6 separate regions of the Homo sapiens genome follow, and all the other regions are linked to region 4. Evidence: promoter capture Hi-C in human tissues and cell types (Jung and others, 2019). All regions are on one chromosome and are shown on one strand. Each heading gives the region's core, a stretch centred on a gene start or on the middle of the fragment in contact. The rest is flanking DNA. Distances are from core to core; before and after follow the strand shown. Region 1 holds the start of POLR3H (RNA polymerase III subunit H). Region 2 has its middle 30 kb from the start of RBX1. Region 3 overlaps XPNPEP3 (X-prolyl aminopeptidase 3). Region 4 holds the start of CHADL (chondroadherin like). Region 5 overlaps XPNPEP3 (X-prolyl aminopeptidase 3). Region 6 overlaps SLC25A17 (solute carrier family 25 member 17).

Region 1 (4,619 bases), core at 1,566-4,065, 300 kb after region 4:
CAAATACTAGAAGACTTGTCCCAACAGGACCTCTACCCCAAAGGGACTATATTCCCTTCTTGGACTTTCCACACCTTCTCTCTCAAGGTCCACACCTCCATCCCCCAACAGACCCTCATCTTCAACCTCACAAAGTAACCAGAAGCCATCCACTTAAAGACTCCATGAGTTCCCTTCACTATCTAGCAACCCCCAAATCAACCTCACCTCTTCTGAAGGGACCTGTCTCATGCGTAAAGCCAGCTAAGCATCCTCTTTCTGGCTCCTTCTCAGCCCATCACCTTCTGATGCTCCACGGATAAAGACCAATACCTCAACTCCGACATCCTACAGGGCTGTGTGGCCTGGCCCCCACCCACCTGTCCAGCCCACCCTCCCCTCTGCCCAAGCCACACCAGCCTCTTCCACACCATGGTGGGTATTTTACCCCTTCTTCTTTTTTTTTTGAAGCGAAGTTTCACTCTTGTCACCCAGGCTGGAAGGCAGTGGTGCGATTTCAGCTCACTGCAACCTCTGCCTCCTGGGTTCAAGTGATTCTTCTCCCTCTGCCTCCCAAGTAGCCGGGATTACAGGTGCCTGCCACCATGCCCAGCTATTTTTTGTATTTTTAGTAGACATGGGGCTTCACCATGTTGGACAGGCTGGTCTCAAACTCCTGACCTTGGGTGATCCACCCGCCTCAGCCTCCCAAAGTGGTGGGATTACAGGTGTGAGCCCCCACGCCCGGCCTGTATTCCTTCTTCACAGGGCCTTTGCACATGCCAGTTCCTGCCTTCAGGGCTCTTCTCTCCACCCAGCCCCCTCCCACCCTAGAAAGGAATCCTCTGGTTGGCTCCACTTCACCATCAGATCTCACCTTCAACCCCACCTCCTCAACAAAGCTGCAGGTCCCCTCATTCCAGGGGACGTTCCTTTGTTCCACAGGTGTGTGAACACCTGTCCCTCATAACATTTACCTCAATTTGTCACCAAACACTCAACTGTGGACCCTTCTCATTCATATCTGCTTTCCCACCACACTATAGCACAGAGCCTTGTCTCTGTTTCATTCATTCAGTCAACAAATGGCCGGGCACGGTGGCTCACACCTGTAATTCCAGCACTTTGGGAGGCTGAGGCAGGCAGATCACCTGAGGTCAGAAGTTTGAGACCAGCCTGGCCAACATGGTGAAACCCCGTCTCTACTAAAAGTACAAAAATTAGCCAGGTGTGGTGGCAGGTGCCTGTAATCCCAGCTACTCAGGAGGCTGAAGCAGAAGAATAGCTTGAACCTGGGAGGTGGAGGTTGCAGTGAGCCAAGATCGCTTCATTGCACCCCAGCCTGGGCGACAAGAGCGGCACTCTTGTCTCACACACACAAACACAAAACAGAAAATTATGGGACATCTACTCCCGCCAGGCTTTGGCTAAATGAGGGGATACTTCAGGGAAGAAGGCAGATAAGGTCCCTGCTCTCAAGGAGAGGGAAAGGAAAAAGTCTAAGAAGGAAAGAGAGTGATGTGACACAGAATACCTGGAAAGGGAGGACTGTCAAAGAAACGGCAGTGGGAAGACCTCTCAGCTGGTACTAAGGCACACAGGCACAGCACAGAGAAGGCGCACAAATATTGGCTGCTGGAATGAAGGGATGAACCTCCTGACAGTTAATTCTGTACTACTAGAACTCTCCATCTTCACGAAAACAATGCATTGACCCGAGGCGATGGCGCACACCTGTAATCCCAGCACTTTGGGAGGCCGAGGCGGGGGGATCAAGAGATCGAGACCATCCTGGCCAAAATGGTGAAACCCCGTCTCTACGAAAAATACAAAAATTAGCTGGGGGTGGTGGCGCGCGCCTGTAGTTGTCCCAGCTACTCGGGAGGCTGGGGCAGGAGAATCGCTTGAACCCGGGAGGCGGAGGTTGCAGTGAGCCGAGATCGCGCCACTGCACTCCAGCCTGGACGAAAGAGCAAGACTCCGTCTCAAAAACAAAAAACAAAACAAAACAAAACAAACAACAACAACAACAAAAACAATGCATGGCTGGAAGGACAGCAATATTTTATCCCCATTTTAAAAATGGAAACTGAGGCCCAGAAGGGGTCAGTAACTTGCCTGCAATTGCAAAGTAATTTAGAATTGTGGAATCTAACACTTCCAGTTACAACTCCCTTTTTCAAGCCCATTTTCTTTTGATCCCCTTCAATATCTCCTTTCACGGTGAAGAAAAGTTCTGAGACATTAAGCTGCTTGCCCACGGCCAGGGCTTGGCATGACCGAGGCCGGGCCTGCGGCCAGTGGGCGGCGCTCGCTCTCCCACGCCAAGGCCTGCCCGCGAGCCGTGGGCCCAGTACCTTGTTGGCCAACTTCTTGTTCAGCTCCTCGGCAATGGAGTCGTTGAGCTTCCTCTCAAACTGCCAAGGGGGGATCCGGACGGTGTCCACCATTTCCACCAGGACGAACATCCCGGCCTGCGCTGGGGGCTCTGGGAACAGGAGGGTCAGTCACGCACCAGGGCCGGGGGCAGGGAGAATCCCCGAGCCCCTTGGTCCCGTCCCAGTCGCTGAGGCCCCCAGGCTGGCGGTGAGGTTGCACGGGGCGGTCTCGGGGGCCCGGTCCGGGCCATGCTCCGCTACTACAACATGAGGAAACTGAGGCCAGAGGGAGGCACTCTCCGTCCACAGCTCCGGGTGCGCGCCCGCGCCGCGAGACCCCGCCACGCCACGCCACTCCACGCCACGCCACTCCACGCCCCGCACCCGCGCCACGTGCCGCCGCTCGTATCACGCACCACGCACCACGCACCGCGCACAGCCGCTCGCGCTTGCGCGACTGCGGGCGAGATTCCGAATCCATCGCTTCCGGAAAACTCACCAATAAGAAACCTCTGTCCACCCCCACCCCGCCGAGGCGGGGCGGGGCTGCCTGTGTGCTCGCGCACAGCGTGGGGCAGAGAGAGGGCGAGGAGAGGGCGGGGCCTCCTCCTTTCACAGGAGCAGAGCGGTTCCCCCGCCCCCGACAGCGCTTTCTGTTGCTAGGCGACCTCCGTGCAATCCCGCCTGATTATCCCTCGCCTGGCCTGTGCTTTACCCGCATTGCTGTCCTCTGCTCGGCAGCCAGAGTGATCCTTTGGAAACGCAAACATATATTACCACATCTAAGTTAAAAAAAAAACCCACCGCAAACATAACATGCTTAGCACCCTTAAGTGTTCCGGAGACAAGGAGAATTAGCAGGAAAGGGGCACTTGGGACTGTTCTGAGATGATGGAAATGTTCTGTATTTTGTTTTCGGTGGTATAACATTGACGTATATAATTGTCCAAACTAATTGAACTCGGCAAGATTTTTGCATTTATTTGTAGACATTATGTTCCAATTGAAAAGTTATAATAAATTGGAACAAAAAACACAACCCATTGAACTTAGAATACTAGATCCAAGCCGGGCGTGGTGGTGTACACCCGTAGTCCCACCTACTCAGAAGCCTGAGACAGCAGCATCGCTTGAGTCCAGGAGTTTGAGGTTGCAGTTTGAGGTTGCATGCTGCACTCTAGCATGGGTGACAGTGACACCTCATGTCTAAACGAAAAAGAAGAAGAAGGAGAGGCGGAAGAAGAAGAAAGAAGAAGGAGAAGAAGAAGAAGAAAGAAGAAAGAAAAGGGAAAGAAGAAAGAAAAGAAGAAAGAAAGAAGAAAAGTCCAAAACCTTTATGGTAGTTCACACGGCCCTGCAAGATCTGACCATACCCCCCTCCTATAGCCCCATCATGCTCTGTCTCGCTGACATTCCAGTCTCATTCATCTTCACGTGATAGCATGGGCTAAGAGAATTTGGTAGCTTACCCAAGATCACGTGTTGACAAGTGGTAGAGGTGGGCCCAGTCTGAACCTCACTACCCTGCCTCTAAAAATTGGTGGGGTGTAGATGTATACTGTAGTGGGTTTTTTTGTTTGTTTGTTTGTTTGAGACGGAGGATCGCTCTGTCGCCCAGGCTGGAGTGCAGTGGCGCGATCTTGGCTCACTGCAAGCTCCGCCTCTCGGGTTCACGCCATTCTCCTGCCTTAGCCTCCCGAGTAGCTGAGACTACAGGCGCCCACCATCACGCCTGGCTAATTTTTCGTATTTTTTTTTAGTAGAGACGAGGTTTCACCGTGTTAGCCAGGATGGTCTCGATCTCCTGACCTCATGATCTGCCCACCTCAGCCTTCCAAAGTGCTGGGATTACAGGTGTGAGCCACCGCGCCCGGGCTTGTAGTGTGTTTTAACCAAAATAACAATTTAGGTACTTACAAAAGATACTTGGGGTAAATGACAGAGGCACTTGGAAATGTATGGTGCCTTAATTTGCTGATTTCACAAGCATAGTGATCTCTCAGTGACACTGGCTGCAGTGATGCTAAATGTGGCCTTCCCTGCATCTATGATTTTATTTTTAGGTGTGCTTCTATAGGATTTGAGGTACTTGAGGACAGCAGCAAATGCTACTTCAGCTCTTTATTCCCACAATCCCCTAACACATTCCTAGGAAGCATTGAGTAAAGGTGTTTAGGGATTACCATTAATTCTTCCTCTCAAATGTTTCCTCTTCATTCCACTCCCACTGCTATTGCTTCGGTTCAGGCCTTTTCTTTTTTT
Region 2 (4,342 bases), core at 1,330-3,829, 260 kb before region 4:
CCCATCCTGCAGTATCATCATTCATGATTCAGAGTAGACAAGCTTTTTATTTTTTATGCAATATATATATTTATTTATTTGAGACAGAGTCTCGCTCTGTTGCCCAGGCTGGAGTGCAGTGATCTCGGCTCACTGCAACCTCCGCCTCCCGGGTTCAAGCAATTCTCCTGCCTCAGTCTCCCTGGAGCTAGGATTACAGGCATGCACCACGACACCCAACTAATTTTTGTATTTTTAGTAGAGATGGGGTTTCACCATGTTGGTCAGGCTGGTTTCGAACTCCTGACCTCAGGTGATCCTCCCACCTCGGCCTCCCAAAGTGCTGGGGTTACAGGCGTGAGGCATCAGGACCGGACTAATTTTTGTATTTTTTAGTAGAGATGGGGTTTCGCAGTGTTGGCCAGGCTGGTCTTGAACGCCTGACCTCAGGTGATCTGCCCACCTCGGCCTCCCAAATTGCTGGGATTACAGGCGTGAGCCACTGCGCCTGGCTGCTTGTTTTTTGTTTTTTGTTTTTTGTTTTTTTTAACCTTTTGGCTGTCACAAACAATGTCGCAATAAACACAATGTATACATATGTCTCTAGGAGACCCTGCTTTCAGTTCTTTTGGGTATATATCGAGAAGTAGAATTGTTGGGTCATACAGTAAATTCTATGTTTAGCTTTTTTAGTAATTGCCAGATTTTTCCACATACTATTTTACATTCCCACCAGCAATGCACTTCAATTTTTCCAAATTTGTATTAGTCTACTAAGGCTGTTCTAACAAAATACCATAGATTGGGCAGCTTCAACAACAGAAATTTATTTTCTATTCTGTTCTGGAGGCCGGAAGTCCAAGATCAAGGTGCCAGTAAATTCAGTTTCTGATGAGGGCTCTCTTCCTGGCTTGTAGACGGCTGCCTTCCTGCTGCATCCTGACATGGCCTTTGGAGAGAGAGAGAGCTCTGGGTGATAGCCCAGGGCTCATCTGGTTGTCCCTGCAGAAGTGTTCGCTGCTTCTCAGCACCCACAGCAGATTTTTGTTGCTGCTCCTCTTTTCTTCTAGTGCCACTGTCTAAATTTAGATTCCCCTAAAGAAGAGCCTGAGACGAGAACTTGGTAGCTTATTTTGGAGTTGATTCCAGGAAGCACAGCGCGGGAGAGGGAATGAGAGACAGGGGAGTGAGGAAAGCCACCGAGCAGGTCACCTCTGCAGGCAACTGGGCTCAGTCCCCCACCAGGCCCGCTGTGGGGACATGCAGAGCACAGCACAGCACTGCACGCCCAGGGATGGGAAGCCCGGACTCTTCTTTCTCTTCTTCTAAGACACCAGTCCTATTGGATTAGCTCCCCAACTTTTACCTCAGTTAAGCTTAATTATCTCCAAAAGACGTTATCTCCAAATACAGTCATACTAGGAGTTAGGGCTTCAACATATGAATTTGCAGGGAGGGGTACAATTCAGTCCACAGCGACATCCTTGCCAACACTTGTCATTTTACAAATTTTGATAATAGCCATCCTGGGGAATAAGAACTATTTGTGGTTTTGATGCTGTTGAGCATCTTTTCATGGCTTCTTTCTTAGCCATTTTTGGTTTTTGTTTTGTTTTGTTTTTTGAGACAGAGTCTTTTTTTTTTTTTTTTTTTTGAGTCGGAGTCTCACTCTGTCGCCAGGCTGGAGTGCAGTGGCGCGATCTCGGCCTACTGCAACCTCCGCCTCCCAGGTTCATGCCATTCTCCTGCCTCAGCGTCCCGAGTAGCTGGGACCACAGGCGCCCGCCACCACACCCAGCTAATTTTTGTATTTTTAGTAGAGACGGGGTTTCACCGTGTTGGCCAGGATGGTCCCTATCTCTTGACCTTGTGATTTGCCCACTCGGCCTCTCAAAGTGCTGGGATTATAGGCGTGAACCACCGTGCCTGACCAAGACAGAGTTTTATTCTGTTGCTCAAGCTGGAGTGCAGTGGTGAGATCTGGGCTCACTGTCACCTCTGCCTCCCAGGTTCAAGCAATTCTCCTTCCTCAGCCTCCCGAGTAGCTAGGATTACAGGCGTCCACCACCATGCCTGGCTAAATTTTGTAATTTTAGTAGAGACAGGGTTTCACCATGTTGGCCAGGCTGGCCTCGACCTCCTGACCTCAAGTGAGCTGCCCACCTCAGTCTCCCAAAGTGCTGGAATTACAGGCATGAGCCACCATGCCTGGCCCCTTTGCCATTTTTTAATTGGGTTGGTTTTTGGGGTTTTTGTTTTTTGGGGGGTTTTTTGGTGGTGGTGAGTTGTTGGAACTTTTTATATAATGTGGATATTAAATCGTTACCAGATATATTATTTGCAAAAATTTGCTTCCATTCTGTGGGTTGCCTTTTCACTCTCTTGATAGTATCCCAGCTGGACGTGGTGGCTTACACTTGTAATCCCAGCACTTTAGGAGGCCAAGACAGGAGGTTCGCTTGAGCCCAGGAGTTTGAGACCAGCCTGAGCAAGGTGGTGAAACCCCGTCTCTACAGAAAAATTCAAAAATTAGCCAGGCATGGTGCCACACGCCTGTAGACCCAGCTACTCAGGAGGCTGAGGTGGGAGGATAGCTTGCTTGAGCCTGGGAGGTGAAGGCTGCAGTGAGCCGAGATCACACCACTGCGCTCCAGCCTGGGCAATAGAGGGAAACTCTGTCTCAAACAAACAAACAAACAACAACAACAACAAAACCCATAATATCCTTTGATACACAAAAGTTTTTAACTTTGATGAATTGCAATCTATTTGTTTTTTCTTTTGGTGTCACATTTAATAAATTGTTGTCAAATCCAACATCATGAATATTTGCCCCTATATTTTCATCTAAGAGTTTTTGTGTTTTAGTTCTTAGATGTAGGTCTTTCATCCTATTTTTTTTGAGATGTAGTCTCACTCTGTCACCCTAGGCTGGAGTGCAGTGGCACGATCATGGCCACTGCAACCTCCGCCTCCCAGGTTCAAGCGATTCTCCTGCCTCAGCCTCCTGAATAGCTGGGGCTACAGGCATGTGCCACCATGCCCGGCTAATTATTGTATTTTTAGTAGAGACGGGGTTTTGTCATGTTGGTCAGGATGGTCTCGAATTCCTGACCTCCCAAATTACTGGGATTACAGGCATAAGTCACCATGCCTGGCCTACTTCCTACTTTGTTTTTGTTGTTGCTGTTGTTTTTTGTTTGTTTTGTTTTTGTTTTTGTTTTTGAGACAGAGTCTCCCTCTCTCCCCCAGGCTGGAGTGCAGTGGCGCAATTTCAGCTCACTGCAACCTCCACCTCCCGGGTTGAAGCGATTCTTCTGCCTCTGCCTCCTGAGTAGCTGGGACTGCAGGCATGTGCCACCAATCCTGGCTTTTTTTTTTTTTTTTTTTTTTTTGAGATGGAGTTTCGCTCTTGTTTCCCAGGCTGGAGCGCAATGGCACGGCCTTGGTTCAGTGCAACCTCTGCCTCCTGGGTTCAGGCGATTCTCCCGCCTCAGCCTCCTGGGTAGCTGGGATTACAGGCATGTGCCACCACACCCAGCTAATTTTGTATTTTTAGTAAAGACAGGGTTTTACCATGTTGGTCAGGCTGGTCTCGAACTCCTGACCTCAGGTGATCCGCCCATCTCGGCCTCCCGAAGTGCTGGGATTACAGGTGTGAGCCACCGCGCCTGGCCTACTTTGTTTTTTAAGATATTACCTCCCTTGCAAGTTGTCAAGAGAATGAGAGTTGAAAGTGAAGCGCCTGCCACAGAGCTGGACACATAGTAGGTGCCTAACAAACAGCAGCTCTCCATAGGAGAAGGCTGGTTCAGTCCCTTCAGGTTGAAAGGACCAGAGACTTCTCGGGTTCCCTCAAGCACACTGGTAGCACAGCAGGTTCACAGGAAATCCTCCCTGTCTGCGCAATCTGGCCTGGGAGACTGGAATGTCGCTCAGTAGGCCGCAGGCCTCCATCTGGTTGTCCCTGCAGAAGTGTCCGCTGCTTCTCAGCACCCACAGCAGATTTTTGTTGCTGCTTCTCTTTTCTTCTAGTGCCACTGTCTAAATTTAGATTCCCCTGAAGAAGAGCCTGAGACGAGAACTTGGTAGCTTATTTTGGAGTTGATTCCAGGAAGCACAGCGCGGGAGAGGGAATGAGAGACAGGGGAGTGAGGAAAGACACTGAGCAGGTCACCTCTGCGGACAACTGGGCTCAGTCCCCCGCCAGGCCCGCTGTGGGGACGTGCAGAGCACAGCACAGCACTGCACGCCCAGGGATGGGAAGCCCAGGTACTGAGCCAGGGCCTGGAGGTTTTAAATCCGTGGCCCTTCTGGGTTACCCTGCACAAAAGGCTGAGCAAGTGTTCACTGCTCCAGAAAA
Region 3 (4,644 bases), core at 196-2,695, 350 kb before region 4:
CAAAGTGACAATGCTTACAGATCTGCAGTTTATTATAGGAAAAGGGTAAAAAATAACCATAATATGAAAGTAAGGATATATATCACAGCCAATGGCTGTCTCAAAGCAAGGAGTCTAGAGAAGCCAGGTGCAGGCTTCTCTGGTCCTCCCTAGGTGAGGGCCAGGCAGGATGTATCTTTCTCTTACAGATTAGGAATCACCAGTGTTGTCATACTCTGCTCAGGCTGCCATTACAAAATATCACAGTCTGCATGGCTTAAACAAGAGAAATGTATTGTCTCATAATTTTGCAGTCTGGAAGTCCGAGATCAAGGTGCCATCATGGTCCATTTCTGGTGAGGGCTCTCCCGGCTTACAGAAGGCGGCTTTCTTGCTGTGTCCTTACATGACAGTGAAAGAGGGCCTTTTTACAAGGCCATGGTCCTATCAAATTAGAGCCCCACCCTTAATTACCTAATTTAACCTTAACTACCTCCTAAAGACATAGAGATTAGAGCTTTAACACATTAATTCTGCGGGAAACACAATTCAGTCCATGGCACATGCAACAGACTACCTCAGAATCAGAGACTCCAAAATGGAATCTCAGCTAGGGATTTTTGTTTTTTTGGTCACATAATCATATTCCTGCTACGTAACAGTAAAGCCCCCCGAGAGTTTTCACAGAGACCAAGTGTAAACCATAAATCTCACTGGCAAACTGATAGAAACTATCCCAAAACTCCCTATTTCATTTATTCTCTCCAAGGTGTTGGCCATTGACTTAATTTAAAAAAATCTTTTTACTGTGGTGAAATGTGCATAACATAAAATATATCATTTTAACCGTTTTTAAGTATGCAAATCAATGACATTAAGTACATTCACATTGTTGTGCCCACTTTTTCCCGACTTTCTCCATCATTCCAAATAGAAACTGTACAGATAAATAATAACTTCCCATTCTCCCCTCCTCCAGCCCCCAGTAACCTCTACTTTCTCTGTGAATCTACCTATTCTAGCTACTTCATATAAATGGAATCATACAACATTTGGCTTTTTGTGACTGGCTTATCTCACTTAGCATAATGTTTTTAAATTTCTTCCATTAGAATTTCACTTTTGTTTTTTAGATAGAGTCTCGCTCTGTTGCCCAGACTAGAGTGCAGTAGCATGATCACAGCTCACTGCAGTCTCGACCTCCTGGGTTCAAGTGATCCTCCCACCTTAGCCTCCCAAGTAGCTGGGACCATTGGTGCATGCCACTATGCCTGCTAATTTTTTAAATTTTTTGTAGAGACAGGGTTTCTCAGTGTTGTCCAGGCTAGTCTCGAACTCCTGAGCTCAAGCAGTCCGCCCACCTTGACCTCCCAAAGTGCTGGGATTACAGGTATGAGCTGCCATGCCCAGCTTCATTCTTTTTAAAGACTGAATAATATTCCATTGTATGCGTATGCCATATTTTATTTGTCTATTCATCCATTGATAAACATTTGGTTTCTATCTTTTTTTTTTTTTTACTATTGTGAATAATGTTGCTGTAAACATAAGTGTACAAATATCTTGTGTTCAAGTCTCTTTTAATTCCATTTGGTATATACACACAACTGGAGTTGCTAGATCAAATGGTAATTTTATGTTTAATATTTTGAGGACCACCATACTGTTATCCATAGTGGCTGCACCGTTTCACATTCCCACTAGCAACGCACCAAGGGTTTCAATTTCTCCACTCTACACCAACATTTGTTCTGTTTTTGTGGCAATAGCCAATCCTAATGTGTGTGAAGTGGTATCTTACTGTGGTTTGGATTTGTATTTCCCTAATGATTAGTGGTGTTGGGCATCTTTTTATGTGCTTCCTGCCTTCCTAATGGTTTTTTTTTTGTTTTGTTTTGTTTTGTTTTGTTTTTTCTTTTTGAGACAGTGTCTCGCTATTGCTCAGGTTGGAGTGCATGGTGAGATCATAGCTTACTGCAACCTTGAATTCCTGGACTTAGGGGATACTCTTGCCTCAGCCTCCTGAGTAGCTTGGATTACAGGCACATACCACCATGGCTGTTTTTAGGTTTTTGTAGAGATGGGGTGTCACTATATTATCCAGGCTGGTGTTGAACTCCTGGCCTCAAGAGATCTTCCATCCTCAGCCTCCCAAAACACTAAGATCACAGGCATGAGCCAACATGTCCAGCATCCTCTTAACACTTTCAGTCAGTATGTTTCCTGCCACACCTTGACCAAGGAAGGAACTTTAGCAAAATAGCTCTGGCTAATTCTAAACCTGGAATTAGCACAACAGTTCACTCTACCCCCATAACCAACATTAACTCTATTTTTTGATAAAACAGTAATCCTGAGTTGACAACAGTTACTTCACTTCTCAATATCATATAGATAATCAAAATACATAGACAAGCAGGGCATAGTGGCTCACCCCTATAATCTCAGCACTGAGGCCAAGGTGGGAGGATCACGTGAGGCAGCGAGGAGTTAGAGACCAGCCTGGCAACATGGCAAGACCTCACCTCTACAAAAAAAGATATTTTAATTAGCCAGGCATTGTGGCATATGCCTGTAGTCCTAGCTACTCTGGAGGCTGAGGCAGAAGGATCACTTGAGCCCAAAAGTTTAAGGTTACAGTGAAGTATTATCACATCACTGCACTCCAGCCTTGGTGACAGAGCAAACACTGTCTCTAAAAAAATGCATACACAGAATCCAAACATTTACAATGATCAGTGAAGGGTTGGTACTGATTTAAACAGACAGCTGAATTATCCAATTACACTTTCTTGTGTTTTTGTACGAACTGTACAGTCCTTTGGCCTCCTTGATCCACAGTTTTCTGCACTTCATGGTATATATCTGCTGAGTTATTAAAAATAATAATCTATCATTAATCAAGTCTAAATATTCATCAAGCCAATTCTCCTCCATAGGGATAACATCCCAACAGGACTTTAATTCAGTCTCTCAATGTATTTGATCATCATCATCAGTATTATACTAAATTTTATAAGCTCCTAAAATATTAATTTTACCTGACCCCTATATTACATCATATAGCAGTACCATTGAAGTGAGAAGTCAGACAAAATTTAGCTGCTAAAGGCTTACATTAAAATAAAAATTAAGGCCAGGTGTGGTGGCTCACACCTGTAATCCCAGCACTTTGGGAGGCTGAGGCAGGAGAATCACTTAAGCTTAGGAGTTCAAGACTAGCCTGGGCAACATGGAGAGACCCCCCCATCTCTACAAAAATTTTTTTAAAATAGCCAAGTGTGGTGGTCCCAACTGCTTGGGAGGCTGAGGTAGGACGATCACTTGAGCTGGGGCAGTTGAAGCTGCGATGAGATGTGATCGTGCCACTGCACTCCAGCCTGGGCAACAGAGTGAGACCACATCTCAAAAAAGAATAATAAAATTTTAAAAAATAAAATTAACAAATAAGATGGCTGGATGCAGTGGCTCACGCCTATAATCCCAACACTTTGGGAGGCCAAGGTGGGCAGATCACTTGAGCCCAGGAGTTCAAGCCCAGCCTGGGCAACATGGTGAAACCCTGTCTCTGCAAAATATAAAAAAATTAGCTGGGCATGGTGGTACGCACCTGTAGTCCCAGCTACTCAGGAGGCCAAAATGGGAGGATCACATGAGCCCAGGGAGGTCGAGGCTGCAGTGAGCTGAGATTGCACCACTGCACTCCAGTCTGGGTGACAGAGTGAGACCCTGTCTCAATAAAGAAATAAAGAAATAGAAGACAAAATCGTGGTGTAATTATTTTGTCCCTCCCTATGCAATTTACCTCTTCTCATATACTGTATATTATTTCTCATAGGAGTCTAAATCAGAGGTCATATCTCTGCTCTTTCAAAATTCAAAACATCTTGAAAACAGCCAGATTTCCTTCTCAAAAAGTTACATGATTTGGCCAGATGTGGTGACTCATACCTGTAATCCCAGCACTTCGGGAGCCCAAGACGGGTGGATCACTTGAGCCCAGGAGTTTGAAACCAACCTAGGCCTCATAGTAAGACCCCATTTCTACAAAAAAAAAAAAAAAAAAAAAAAGTTTTTAATTAGCTGCATGTGGTGGCACATGCCTGTAGTCCCAGCTACTTGGGAGGCTGACATGGGAAGATCACTTGAGCCCAGGAAGTCAAGGCTTCAGTAAGCCACGATCATGCCACTGCACTCTGGCATGGGTGACAGAGACCCTTCCTCAAAAAGTTACATGGTTTAGCTGGGCGTGGTGGCTCACACCTGTAATCCCAGCACTTTGGGAAGCCGAGGCGGGCGGATCACAAGGTCAGGAGTTCGAGACCAGCCTGGCCTATATGGTGAAACCCCGTCTCTACTAAAAATACAAAAATTAGCTGGGCGTGGTGGCGGGCGCCTGTAGTCCCAGCTACTTGGGAGGCTGAGGCAGGGGAATCGCTCGAACCTGGGAGGCAGAGGTTGCAGTGAGCAGAGATCGCACCACTGCACTCCAGCCTGGGTGACAGAGTGAGACTCCATCTCAAAAAAAAAAAAAAGGTTACAAGGTTTGACAGATGTTCATTCTCAATGAGAAGGATCCTGCAACAGAACTCATTTATCTACCACAGAAAACACTAGTCCTGTTTAAAGTTTGTCCAGGATCCACAAACTGCACTACAGGAAAAG
Region 4 (4,395 bases), core at 124-2,623:
GGGGCCAGCAGCAGAAGTACAAGAAGCGGCAGCACCAAGGGGACATGGGTGGAGCTCCGGGGCCTGGGACGGGGAGGGAGAGTCTGTTGTGCACAAGGGCCGAGGCCACATGCTGTCCCTCACTTAGTCCCAGCCATGGTGCAGCTCCTGCCCCAAAAACCCCTCAGAGCCTCCTCCTTTGGGCCCAGGAAAGTGCCAATCACCCTGAGCCTCCCTGCCCCCCACCCCCCACGCAGTGGAGGTCCTATGATTAGTCCTGTTTTACATGGGAGGAAACCGAGGCTCAGAAAAGTGACCTGGTTAGTCCCTTTGCCTCTGCCCAATGGCTCAGTGAGGACTTGCTGACTGTGAGAATGACTCCAGTTCAGAGCATGTTCTCAGGCTGTGGTGAGGCTCTGGTCCAGGGTAGGCTCGGAAGCAGCCTGTCCTCAGACTGATATGATGCCAGCTCCCAGGTGGCAGGAGCATAATGGTACCCCCCAGAAAGGAGGGAGGCATCCAGTCCGGGTCCTTGAGTCTTTTTTTGTTTGTTTGTTTAAATAGAGACAAGCCTTGCTCTGTTGCCCAGGCTGGAGTCTGGAGTGCAGTGGAATGACTATGGCTTACTGCAGCCTTCACCTCCTGGGCTAAAGTGATCCTCTCACCTCAGCCTCTTGAGTAGCTGGGACTACAGGCACACACCACCACGCCTGGCTAATTTTTTAATTACTTCTGGTAGAGACAGGGTCTCGCTATGTTGCCCGGGCTGGTCTTGAACTCCTGGCCTCAAGTGATTGTCCCACCTTGGCCTCCCAAAGCGCTAGGATGATAGATCACCTCCCCTGCCCAGCTGGCCCCTCTGTTCTCAGCCTGTGTCAGGCATGGCCTCTCCCCCATCGCTGGGCTGTTCCCCGGCCCCCAGGAGCCTCCCCCTCGCTGCTCACTGGACTATCGTCTGTTTTGGAGTCTCCTTTGGGTCCCAGGCTCCAGCCCCTGCGTTGGAGTTGGTGGCTTCTCCAGAGCCTGTGGTGAAGGCTGTGCCTCAGGGCAGGCCAGGGAGGGGACCCATGGGGACAGATCGCTGAAGCGACAAGCATTCATAATGCAGGGACCACTGCTGGGCTCTCAGACAAGCCCCAGAGGACCAGTTCCTGGCAGTGGCCACATTGCCACGTGTCTCAGAGCCCACCTTGGGAGACCCCCTTCCTGGAGAACCCCAGGAAGTCCCCAGAGCCCCTGCCCGCCAGCCTCTGAGAGGCCCAGAGGGGGCAGAGACTTACCTGAGGCCACTGAGCTGCTCTGAATCCCCCCTTGCACCATCGGGCCCAAAGACTCACCCCTCCATGCCGCCTGGAACTGCTGGTCCAGCCTGGAGGCGCAGCGCAGGGACAGGCTGTCCCCGCCTGGCAGGAGCCCCCCTCCACGGCCCGCAGGCCTGGCAGCTGGGACAGGGCTGAATGGGAGGCATTGTCGGCAGACCAGGCAAGCCAGGCTTCCCCAGGCTGAGGTGAAGAAGGGGCGGGCGGCGGGCGGGAGCAGCGGCTGGAGTTACAGGGCCTCCTGCCTGCCCCAGCCGAGGACTGAGGCCCCGGCCTGAATCCTTGGGCCAGCCCGACAGGGAGGGGGCACCAGCAGCTGGCCCGGGAGTCAGCAGTCCTGGGCTCCCTCCTGCCATGTGGGCTGCCCTCCCAGAGGCTGCTTCCTAGTCTCTGAAAAACACATCCCATTAATAAGTAGCTCTGAGGTCACAGTGGGGGTTCAGGCCCGCACCTGGCACACAGTGGGTGCTTCAGAACAGGTGACCCTTTCCTTCCGTTTGTGCTTACACATTGACATAAATAGTTTAATACTGGACACACAGGATTCTAGACACTCATTTTTTTCACTTAACCTCAGATTACTGGGAGTTATCCAAATTGACTCTTCCGAATCTCATTATTCTGTGGTATATAGTATTCCATTGTGTAAATGTATCACATTGACTTAGCCATTCATCTTGGACATTGGCTACCTCCAATTTTTTGCTATTTACAAACAATATTGCAAAGAATATCCAAATACGCATCTTCCCAAGCTCGTGTTTGTTTTTTAAATAATACATCCAGACCATGGCCAATGTTCATGTATCTTGATTTTTCAGATTCCTGCTTCTGATGGAATTGCATCTTCTACTGTTTGTTCCTTTAATTGGAAACAGGGGTCAGGCACAGTGGCTCATGCCTGTAATCCCAGCACTTTGGGAGGCTGAGGTGGGAGGATCACTTGAGCCCAGGAGTTTGAGACCAGCCTGGGCAACACAGACTCTGTCTCAAGAGAAAAAAAAAAGGCCGGGCGCGGTGGCTCACGCCTGTAATCCCAGCACTTTGGGAGGCGGAGGCGGGTGGATCACGAGGTCGAGATCAAGACCATCCTGGCTAACACAGTGAAACCCTATCTCTACTAAAAGTACAAAAAATTAGCCGGGTGTGGTGGCAGGCGCCTGTAGTCCCAGCTACTTGGGAGGCTGAGGCAGGCAAATGGCATGAACGCGAGAGCCGAGATGGCGCCACTGCACTCTAGCCTGGGCAACAGAGTGAAACTGTCTCAAAAAAGAAAAAAAATATATACATATATATATATATATATATATATATATATATATATATATATATATATATGTATGTGTGTGTGTATACACTTATGTGTGTATATATTTATATATAATAAAAATATAAATGTATATGTTTATATATATTTATATATGTTAAACAATGAACATCTGTGTGTACTTTTCCTAGACTGCAGGAGTTTTTTGTTTTTTGAGACAGAGTCTCACTTTATCGCCCAGGCTGGAGCTCACTGCAACCTCCACCTCCCTGGTTCATGCGATTCTCCTGCCTCAGCTTCCCAAGTAGCTGGGATGACAGATGTGTACCACCACATCTGGTTAATTTTTGCATTTTTAGTAGAGACGGGGTTTCGCCATGTTGGCCAGGCCGGTCCCGAACTCCTGACCTCAAGTGATCTGCCCGCCTTGATCTCCCAAAGTGCTGGGATTACAGGCATGAGTCACCACGCCCAGCCCTGCAGTAACATTTTAAAAAAAGAAATAGTGCCATGCCACACAGCCATCTGCTTTGTGCTTTTTTTGCTTGGCAAATTCCAATCAATGGAACTTCAGTGTGCTCTTTCGTCCTTTTTTTGAGACAGGGTCTCACTGTTGCCCAGGTGTGAGTGAAGTGTGATCATGGCTCACTGCGGCCTTGACATACCAGCCTCCCAAGCAGCTGGGACCTCCAGATATGCACCGCCACCTCCAGCTGGTTTTAAAATTTGTTGTAGAGTTGGGGTCTTGCTATGTTGTCCAGGCTGGTCTTGAACTCCGGGGCACAAGTGATCCTCCCACCTCGGCCTCCCAAAGCGTTAGGATTACAGGCATGAGCCACTGCACCTGGCTGTGTCTGGCGTTTTCCACTCAATATTATGTTAGTGAGAATCATCTTTTTATTTTTTTTTTGAGACGGAGTCTAGCTCTCGTTGCCCAGGCTAGAGTACAGTGGCGTGATCTCAGCTCACTGCAACCTCCGCCTCCCAGGTTCAAGGAATTCTGCTTCAGCTTCCCGAGTAGCTGGGATTACAGGCACCCGCCACCACACCCAGCTAATTTTTGTATTTTTAGTAGAGACGGGTCTCACCATATTGGCCAGGCAGGTCACAAACTCCTGACCTCAAGTGATCCGCCCGCCTCAACCTCCCAAAGTCCTAGGATTTACAGGTGTGAGCCCGCACCCGGCTTCATCTATTTTAATTTTTTTTTTAAATTCAGCATTCCAGCCTTCCATTCTATAAATATATGACAACAGTGGCATGGGGCAGGGGCGGGAGGCAGTCTGCCCACAATGCAGGCAGTAAGCGGGTGTGCTGTCAGTGGAGAAGTGAGACACAATGGAACTGACTTAAAGTTGGTCTCTGCTTTTTATTATCATGTGCTGACAAGTCTAAACAATGTCAATGCTAAAATATTTCTTCTTGGGCAGACCATTCCTACCTTCTCGGTACCACACCGTACCACAAGTAGCTTACCCATTCCTCTAGTGATAGACATTTGGGTTGTTTCCAGCATGGGTTTATTAGAAAGAGCACTGTAGCCGGGCATGGTGGTTCATGCCTGTTAAGTGAGCTGAGGCGGGAGGATCACTTGAGCCCAATAATTCAAGACCAGCCTGGACAACACAATGAGACCCTGTCTTTACAAAAAAAAGCTGAACGTGGTGGCTTGTGACATGGTCCCAGCTACTTGGGAGGCTGAGGCACGAAGACTAAGTGAGCCCAGGAGGTCGAGGCTGCAGTGAGCTGTGATCACACCACTGCACCCCAGCCTGGGTGACATGGCAAGACCCTGTCTCAAAAAAAAAAAAAAAAAAAAAAAAGGTTGTA
Region 5 (4,551 bases), core at 1,747-4,246, 370 kb before region 4:
CAGCCTACTCCACCAGTGGGTTAGTGCTGCTGGAGGGAGATGAAAAGATTAGGAAGGTAAGATAGCTTTGAAGGCTTTGTATTCTAAATTAAGGAGTTAGATTTTTAACTGTCACGTGAGGTAGGCATTATCATCATTATTTTACAAACACAGAATCAGACTCAGAGAAGTAATCTGGACAAGGTTACACACTTAGTACCAGAGAAGCTGAGATTCAAACTCAGGTTTATTTGACTTCATAATCTTTGCTCTTATCCCTCCCCCTTGCCGCTCACTAGGTCCTCTCTGTTTAATCTCAACAATCAATACTGTACAATCTCCTTGTGAACATACAATTTCTGTAAGGACTATGAATTATGAATAATAATATATGTATTTGGGAGAGAAGAGTCTTAAAAGTTAATTCCAGTTTGTAGAAGATTGTTTAGAAAAATCATAGCTTCTTCTAAAAAGATTTAAAAAAAAGAAAAATCATAGCTTCTAAGATGATTACAAAGAAATTGGTGTGGGTTTCCAACCTGGGCAACATAGTGAGACCTCATCTCTACCAAAAATAAAAAAAATTAACCAGTCTTGGTGGCACATACCTGTAGTCCCAGCTACTTGGGAGGCTGAGCCACTGACTCCAGCCTGGGCAACAGAGTGAGACTCTGTCTTAAAAATAAATAAATGAATAAATATTGAAGGAGAGAAGGAAGGAAATATTAGTTTGCATTTTTCTAAAGCATCCAAACTGTTGGAGATGGATAAGTGCATTTATACCATGAAGACTTTCTAGATCTATTGTTTCATTTCATTTATTGCCTAAGCCCAGAGGAACAAAGCTGCAGTGAGCTATGATCATGCCACTACACTCCAGCCTGGGCGACAGAGTGAGACCTGTCTCAAAAAAAAAAAAAAAAAACCCAACAAACAAAACTCCTTATGTGTGAATCCACTGTTGCATTCACCATTTAATATTGTAATGCTCTATTTTGTCTCACCTCCACTAGACTGTGCATTCTTTAAAGACCACAGCATATAGCCTTGTCATTCATGTGTCTTTCTTTGAGCATGTTCCAATCATGTGCAAAGAATTTTTTAATTAATGCTAATAACTAACATTTGTTGTACTCTATGATTAAGCATTTTTCATAAATTATTTTATCTAGCTCTGACATTCCAAGATTAAATGAGATAGCATGTGCATATTTTCTCATGCTTAACATATTCTCAATAAAAAATGTTGATTATCTTTTCCTGAGTTTTAGGACACAGCTTTATGCTATCTCTGTGATACCCTTTCAAACTGCCTCTGTGATATCCTTCCCCTGCCTTTTTTGGTTCCTTTCTTCTGTTTTCATAGCTCCTTATTCATACCTTTATTATATATGTGTGCGTGTGTGTGTGTGTGTGTGTGTGTGTATGTGTATAAAATATTATAGCAGACAAATGTCTCTGAGGGTAAAGATCTCATTTCTGTTTTCCTAAGGCCCAACACAGAGTCTGACACAGAGCAAAGGCCATATAAATATTGAAGGAGGGCCAGGTGCAGTGGCTCATGCCTGTAATCCCAACACTTTGGGAGGCCGAGGTGGGCGGATCACTTGAGGTCAAGAGTTCGAGACCAGCCTGGCCAACAGGATTAAACCCCGTCTCTACAAAAATTAGCCAGACATGGTGGCACGCACCTGTAATCCCAGCTATGTAGGAGGCTTGAGGCAGGAGAATCACTTGAACCCAGGAGGTGGAGGTTGCAGTGAGCCGAGATCATGCCACTGACTCCAGCCTGGGTGACAGAGTGAGACTCTGTCTTAAAAAAAAAATAAATGAATATTGAAGGAGAGAAGGAAGGAAATATTAGTTTGCATTTTTCTAAAGCATCTAAACTGCTAGAGATAAGTGTATTTATACCATGAAGACTTTCTAGATCTATTGTTTCATTTCATTCTCTTTATTCTTCATTCAGGATGTATGTTGTGTTCACAGCGAAGGTACTCCCTTCAGCCTGTCCCAGAAAGGAGGATTCCAAACCGATACTTAGGCCAGCCCAGCCCCTTTACACACCCACACCTCCTCAGACCAGGTAAGGCCTTTTAACTGTGCTATCTCCCCATTTAGGTTCTGTCTAGAGCAATGCTATGCAATAGAACTTCTTGCAGTAAGCTCTGGATCTGTGCTGTTCCATAAGGTAGCCACTAACCTCACATGGCCATTTTACACTAATAAGGTTGCTAGTACAGCTGAGGAGCTGAACTTTTTATTTTATTTAATTTTAATTAATTTAAATTTAAGCTTAACTACATGTGGGTACTGGTGCTTTATTGACAATACTAGTCTAGAACAAGGTTTAAATATGATAGACCTTATAATTCAGAATAATTAATGAAAGGTATGTATTTCAGGATGTTTTTAAAGCAAAGTTCTATTTCTAAGTCAGCTTTTAGAATTGTATACTATTGTGAATTACTGTGTTAAAGACATTTTAGAAAACATGTTTTTTCTTGAAATTATCAAATATTTACTTTAAAATTATAACCTATTTCTATATAGATTAAGCAAGATTTCCAGATTTGTTTGTCACAGATTTGAGAGGTAGTATCCCAGTTGATAAAGGTGATGCAAAAAAATGATAAAGGTTTGTTTTACTAATTTTTTTTTCTGCTATAAGATCCCAGCGTTGCTGCCAGAAGATGTCTTATAACTATTGCTCAAATTTAGACCTAAAGGTTTTTTGTTTTGATTTCTTGCACTTAAGGGGTGAACTATGACTAATGAATATCTCAGAGAGGAAGGTAGGGTAAAAGCAAACACATTGTAGAAAAAGCAATCAGGTTTTCAAGGAAAATTAATTGTTCTTTCTGCCATAAGAAATTAAATATGTATTTGCCATATAAGCATATATATTACTAATGGAAATTTACCTTTAGAAATATGTTCCTTTTTCACTATCCCCACTCAGTGAATGATACCAGTATGTTTCTCAGTGAGGGCTTCCTTTTGCTGATTTTTCATCAGACTCGAATTCCTGCTGGGAAGTCGGCTGAAACTAAGGAAATGCAGCTCACCACTGAAACCCACAAGAAATCAGAGTTTTTCAAAGCTGTAAGGTAAGCTTAATAGCAACCCAGTTGGTATTAATTTTAGTATTTATCTACCCTATCAACCTACCTGTAGACTCGAGTTATTTTTTTAAGTAGAATTGATAGTTTTACCAGCTTTGAAAATTACTGATTTCTTGTGGTGAGATATTTTTACATGGTAAGCTGCATTTTCCAGGCCTTAAACCTAGTAATTATATTGTCAAGATAATGGCCTCTGTATCTAGATTTTTTTGCTCTATACCTTAAGTGCATGTTAAGTATAAGTGAATGTAAATAAATATGTACACGTATATGTTCACATACATATGTATGTGAATATCTGGGGGAAAAGGGATGCCTGTCCTAATTTTACTCTCCTAGACGTGGGATTTTGGACATTGGGGTAAGTGAGAAGGGATGGAAGTAGATGGAATTTTAAAACAGAATTATTAGTATTTTAAACCTCAAACTATCAGATGTACCATTAGGTACAGATTTTTCTGCAGACAAAAGTATCAAAAGAATTAATCATTTGTGTTTCTCCTTCCAGAGATGCAAAACTTGTGGAAGTGTTAAAGTGATTGTAGGGTGAAGCAGAGTAAATTTTTAAGAAAAATTAAAAGGGGCCGGGCGCAGTGGCTCATACATGTAATCCCAGAACTTTGGGAGGCCAAGGTGGGTGGATCACCTGAGGCCAGGAGTTTGAGACCAGCCTAACCAATATGGTGAAATCCTGTCTCTACTAAAAATACCCCCCAAAAAAAAAATTAGCCGGGTGTGGTGGCATATGCCTATAATCTCAGCTACTGGGGAGGCTGAGGCAGGAGAATCACCTGAATCTGGGAGGCGGAGGTTGCAGTGAGCCAGAATTGTGCCACTGCACTCCAGCTTGGGGGACAGAGGGAGACTCTGTCTCAAAAAAAAAGGAAAAAAAATTTAAAGGCATGTAATACTTAAAAAGTCTCTTAGGCCAGGTACAGTGGCTCACGCCTATAATCCCAACACTTTGGAAAGACAAGATGAGAGGATCACTTGAGGTTAGGAGTTCGAGACGAGCATAGGCAACATAGCAAGACCCTGTCTCTATAAGAAATAAAAAAAATTAGTGCTCCTGCCTATAGTCTCAGCTACTCGGGGGACTCAGGTGGGAGGATTGCATGAGCCCAGGAGGTCAAGGATGCAGTGAGCTGTGATCATGCCTCTGCACTCCATCTTGGGTGACAGAATGAGACCGTGTCTCTCTCTCTCAAAAAAAGTCTCTTACGCAGTTGGCTTGTTAGTTTAGGATATAAAATTATGTAATGTGCACTTGGTTTCTCCAAAAGGTTTCATGTTTTGCATATTTCTCTAATACATGGCAGTATGTACTTAATACTTTTGGGAAACATCTCAATGCCTTTCCTAATTATTACGCAAGTTCTATACATACAGAAAAAGAGAATACAGGTAAGCATAGATTTTTTTTTTAATTACTAATAATCCCACAACT
Region 6 (4,300 bases), core at 1,425-3,924, 460 kb before region 4:
TACAGGATTTGACTTTTAAAAACCACTATTTCACTACAAAGATTGATGTATGGGAAAGGAGAACCTGGCAATGTGGTACTATTGAAAGGCAGAAGCTCAAAGATATCAGATACCAATCTGGTGTCTATCCAAAGACAACACTAGAATAAAAAAGTATAGATCATTCTTCAAAAATATTCATCCCCTCCCATTGATACTCTTTGGGAGCAGCATACTTCTCTACCCCTTGTCTTGGGCTTGGCTATGTGATGTGCTTTGGCCACTGGGATGTCAGCAGACAAGGTGCCAACAGGGTTGAAAGGTGTTTATACCATTGGGTGTGTCCTCTTGACCTTTTGCCATCACAATGAGAATATGCTCATGCTGGTCCCAGAAAGAGGAGAGCCATGTGAACTGAGACTGTCAGGCTACGGTCAGCCTAGATGAGCCAAATCCACGTCAATCCACAAACATGTGTTAAAAAGAAATGCTATTGATGGATGCCGAGATTTGAGGTTGTCTGTTATGCAGCTTTTATTTTTTTTTAATTATACTTTAAGTTCTAGGGGACATGTGCACAACGTGCAGGTTTGTTACATATGTATATATGTGCCATGTCGGTTTGCTGCACCCATTAACTCATCATTTACATTAGGTAAAAGCAATGGCAACAAAAGCCAAAATAGACAAATGGGATCTAATTAAACTAAAGAGCTGTTGCACAGCAAAAGAAACTACCGTCAGAGTGAACAGGCAACGTACAGAATGGGAGATAATTTTTACAATCTACCCATCTGACAAAGGGCTAATATCCAGAATCAACAAAGAACTTAAACAAATTTACAAGAAAAAAAATCAAACAAACCCATCAAAAAGTGGGCAAAGGATATGTTATGTAGCTTTATGTGGCAACATATTCCAGATACAAAGAAGGAAGAAAACCCTTAAATAGGAATTCAGCAAAGAGATACTTACCAATGATACCTTTGTAGTTTGTTGGTACAATGTCTTCATTCCTAAATTTTGCTCCTTGAAGCTTCAGTCTGGTGTTTACCACCCAGAGTGGAGTTGTTAGCAACACATTAACCACTCCTTTAACAAGAAAGATGGAGAGAAAAAGGGAAGGCAAAATGTCAGCTTTTAAGCTTTGCTGCTTTAAAGCTACATACCAATATTCCATTTATATCTCTGTCACTGACCTCTTAGGAGACCTAAGGTAAGGTGTCTCTTTGTGCCAGGGTACAACACAAGCCACTACTGTTAGAAGCGATTTGGAAGCTTTGCTGATAGCAAAATGGCTGGCGGCAGCAGCTCTCCAGATGAAGAGCAATAAGTTCCCTCATTTGTACAACAGGCAATCTATTTGTCAATTTATATACCATTCAAAGTAGCAATTTTGATATAGCTTTAAATATAATTTTAACGTAACAGCTTTAGAGATGAGAGTGGCTTACAGCTAACATGCTAAGTCCATGACAATATCAGATAAAACACACAATTTACAACTCTTACTTAAGTAGCTCACACGGTTTGAAGTGAGTATGGATATGGTACAATGAGTGACAGGAGGGGGAAAGGTGGTGACATTTAAAAGTGCCTTAACAGAGACTAGAAGCTCGCTGAAGAGTTCCTCCTTGCTGAGAGCATTAGGATAGGCAGGCAGCAAGCATCAGGTAAGTGTCACAAAACACCTGAAACAGCTTCACAAGCATCATGATCCTTACAAGCTTAAGGATGGGGATCTTGGCCCCCCAAGGTTGCCTCAGAGTAGAACAATACAATGAGCCAGGTGCTTCTTTTTTGAAAACATATGATCCCAATTTAACACCATCTTGAGATATTAAAATATTCCTCACCAGTCCTGAAATGATTAAAAAAAAATACCAGATAGAATTGTAACAATGTGCCTGACACATGGTATATACTTTATAAACATTTGTTAAATAAATAGTGGAACAAATGAAGCAATGAACAAACTCAGTAAAAAAGCACACATCCAACTGTCTGGCTCTAGTCAAGATCTGAAGAACCAAGAGAAAAAATCCTAAGGAAGAGAAGTCTTTTACTAAAATCCATTTAAAGATAATTGAAGAAATAAAGTTTTGATTTAAGGTATCTCAAAATATTATATATAGGAAATACAGTCTAACCAAGGATAAACTTGACAAAACAGCCAAGAGATTCAAATTCAATTTTTTCATTAGTTGCATACAGTTGTTAAAGATATTTTGCTGCCTATCTCTAAGGAGCATTATAAGAGCACATTTCTCAAAATAAAAGGCATCACCTAATAATTTTATCAGTCGTATTTGTTATATTTTTATAGATTCACATAACATTAAGGAGTCATCTTTAGTTATAACTTAAAAGGCTCATACATTGTCACTGGAGGCATTGCCTATAATCTAAAAAACCCTTAGTTACAGATTCTTCCTAGTCTCATTTTTTCAAAAGCACCCATGCCCCAGAGGCCAGTATAGAGGGATATTAACACATTCCTGTTTGCCTAGATTTTAGAATGTATTCCTATTCAATGCAATGCACACTTCACTTAACAGAGAAAAACCAACAGCCAGAAAAATCAGACTAGAAAGTGCTATTGAGCAGTCTACTGCATTTGTTTTAAGAGAAAAGGAGGACAGGAGAGCTCAGGACCAGAGATCACAAGCTTCCACAGATACCGTAGAAAGGTATAGTGCACCCACCTTTCTAAACAAGTGAAATATGTTGCCTGTTAAATAAATTCTTCAGAAATAAAAATTTTCTTCATTTAAGAGGTAGGCACATACAAAAACACTTAGGAGGCAATGCAGCTAAGATTAAGATCTAACCATTCTTTAAAATTCTGCTTTCATGCCCAGTGTGGTGGCTCATGCCTGTAATCTTAGCACTTTGAGAGGCTGATATGGGAGGATCACTTGAGCCTAGGAGTTCAATAGCAGCCTGGGCAAAAGAGGGAGACTCCATCTCTAAAAAAAATATTAAAAATTAGCCAGGCAGGGTGGCACACTCCTGTGGTTCCAGCTACTCAAGAGGCTGAAGTGGGAAGATCGCTTCAGCCCAGGAGGTTGAGGCTGCAGTGAGCTGTGATCATGCCACTGCACTCCAGAGCTGGGCAACAGAGTGAGACCTTTTCTTATTAAAAAAAGAAAAAAGAAAAAAAAATCTGCTTTCATATCCCCATTATTAACACAAGCAGAAAGACTAAAAGGATTCTTTTTTTTTTTTTTGAGACGGAGTCTCGCTCTTTCGCCCAGGCCGGAGTGCAGTGGTTCTATCTCGGCTCACTGCAAGCTCCGCCTCCCCGGCTCACACCATTCTCCTGCCTCAGCCTCCCGAGTAGCCAGGACTACAGGCGCCCGCCACTGCGCCCGACTAATTTTTTGTATTTTTAGTAGAGACGGGGTTTCACCGTGTTAGCCAGGATGGTCTCGATCTCCTGACCTCGTGATCCGCCCGCCTCGGCCTCTCAAAGTGCTGGGATTACAGGTGTGAGCCACCGCACCCGGCCTAAAAGGATTCTTCTCAAGGACAACCTCAAGTACAAAAATGTACCACATTACTTAAATAACAGATTATAAAGTCCTTGTAAGAACATTTGGTATTTCAAAGCTTTTTATCTGAGAAGTTCAAGTACTTTTTTTCACTCTCTAAGCCAAAATAGATGGAGGAGTATTTTTTAACCAGTATAATTTTATGAGTTCTGAGAGAAGCTACTCAAAATACTTGAGAATCCGAAGCTTTACTAAAACTTGCAACCTATATCATCAAGCAAAGGTCAGCATTCCACTGAGAGAAGCATGCCACAAACCATTCGTGAGTACCAATTCCAACTCCTGACAGGCCCAAAGGATAAAGAAAATTGTCTGCTTTTTTGTAAGCCCGTGTAACTCTTCTGCCAGTTCCGGCCGGGTGCGGTTGCTCACGCCTGGAATCCCAGCACTTTGGGAGGCTGAGGCGGGTGGATCACAAGGTCAGGAGTTAGAGACCAGCCTGGCCAACACGGCGAAACCCTGTTTCTACTAAGAATACAAAAATTAGCCAGGCACGGTGGCGGGCGCCTGTAGTCCCAGCTACTCAGGAGGCTGAGGAAGGAGAATCGCTTGAACCCAGAAGGTGGAGGTTGCAGTGAGCCGAGATCGCACTACTGCACTCCAGCCCGGGTGTCAGAGCGAGACCCCATCTCAAAACAACAACAACAACAACAACAACAACAACTCTTCCGCCAGTTCCAAGCTGTGGATGCTACTTCCGCTCTAAAGTAGAAATACAAATTAATACTTTACCTACCAAAGGGCAGAAGACTGTTTTTTTTCTAATT

What was found. Contacts are between HindIII fragments. The study calls those that stand out against the background at their distance.
Region 1: a contact is called between the fragment with the promoter of POLR3H here and the fragment with the promoter of CHADL in region 4, in 2 of the 25 tissues and cell types used here (dorsolateral prefrontal cortex and mesenchymal stem cells).
Region 2: a contact is called between a fragment that was not itself captured here and the fragment with the promoter of CHADL in region 4, in 2 of the 25 tissues and cell types used here (lymphoblastoid cells and spleen).
Region 3: a fragment that was not itself captured here is called in contact with the fragment with the promoter of CHADL in region 4 in 2 of the 25 tissues and cell types used here (lymphoblastoid cells and spleen).
Region 5: a contact is called between a fragment that was not itself captured here and the fragment with the promoter of CHADL in region 4, in 1 of the 25 tissues and cell types used here (lymphoblastoid cells).
Region 6: a contact is called between a fragment that was not itself captured here and the fragment with the promoter of CHADL in region 4, in 1 of the 25 tissues and cell types used here (lymphoblastoid cells).

What each region holds. Positions count from the first base shown.
Region 1 is chr22:41,541,655-41,546,273 of GRCh38, forward strand. POLR3H (RNA polymerase III subunit H) reads right to left here and starts at 2,816. Exons shown (of 6, transcript NM_001018050.4): 1 at 2,337-2,816. The coding sequence starts at 2,447. RefSeq lists enhancers at 2,177-3,014, 2,337-2,436, 2,447-2,536 and silencers at 2,587-2,716, 2,907-3,006. The HindIII fragment of the contact is 26,348 bases long and covers 1-4,619 here.
Region 2 is chr22:40,978,828-40,983,169 of GRCh38, forward strand. No RefSeq gene overlaps it. Among named protein-coding and RNA genes, the nearest start is that of RBX1, 30 kb to the left of the region's middle. The HindIII fragment of the contact is 3,762 bases long and covers 699-4,342 here.
Region 3 is chr22:40,887,153-40,891,796 of GRCh38, forward strand. The region is part of intron 4 of XPNPEP3 (X-prolyl aminopeptidase 3); the gene reads left to right. Among named protein-coding and RNA genes, the nearest start is that of DNAJB7, 27 kb to the left of the region's middle. The HindIII fragment of the contact is 5,151 bases long and covers 1-4,021 here.
Region 4 is chr22:41,239,558-41,243,952 of GRCh38, forward strand. It overlaps CHADL (chondroadherin like), which reads right to left and starts at 1,374. Exons shown (of 6, transcript NM_138481.2): 1 at 1,317-1,374; 2 at 1-63. The coding sequence starts at 1,324. RefSeq lists enhancers at 977-1,477, 1,478-1,978. The HindIII fragment of the contact is 27,215 bases long and covers 1-4,395 here.
Region 5 is chr22:40,867,051-40,871,601 of GRCh38, forward strand. XPNPEP3 (X-prolyl aminopeptidase 3) reads left to right here. Exons shown (of 10, transcript NM_022098.4): 2 at 1,949-2,065. Among named protein-coding and RNA genes, the nearest start is that of DNAJB7, 7.2 kb to the left of the region's middle. The HindIII fragment of the contact is 4,117 bases long and covers 939-4,551 here.
Region 6 is chr22:40,778,055-40,782,354 of GRCh38, forward strand. It overlaps SLC25A17 (solute carrier family 25 member 17), which reads right to left. Exons shown (of 9, transcript NM_006358.4): 5 at 955-1,071. Among named protein-coding and RNA genes, the nearest start is that of MIR4766, 34 kb to the right of the region's middle. RefSeq lists an enhancer at 4,011-4,300. The HindIII fragment of the contact is 3,211 bases long and covers 1,070-4,280 here.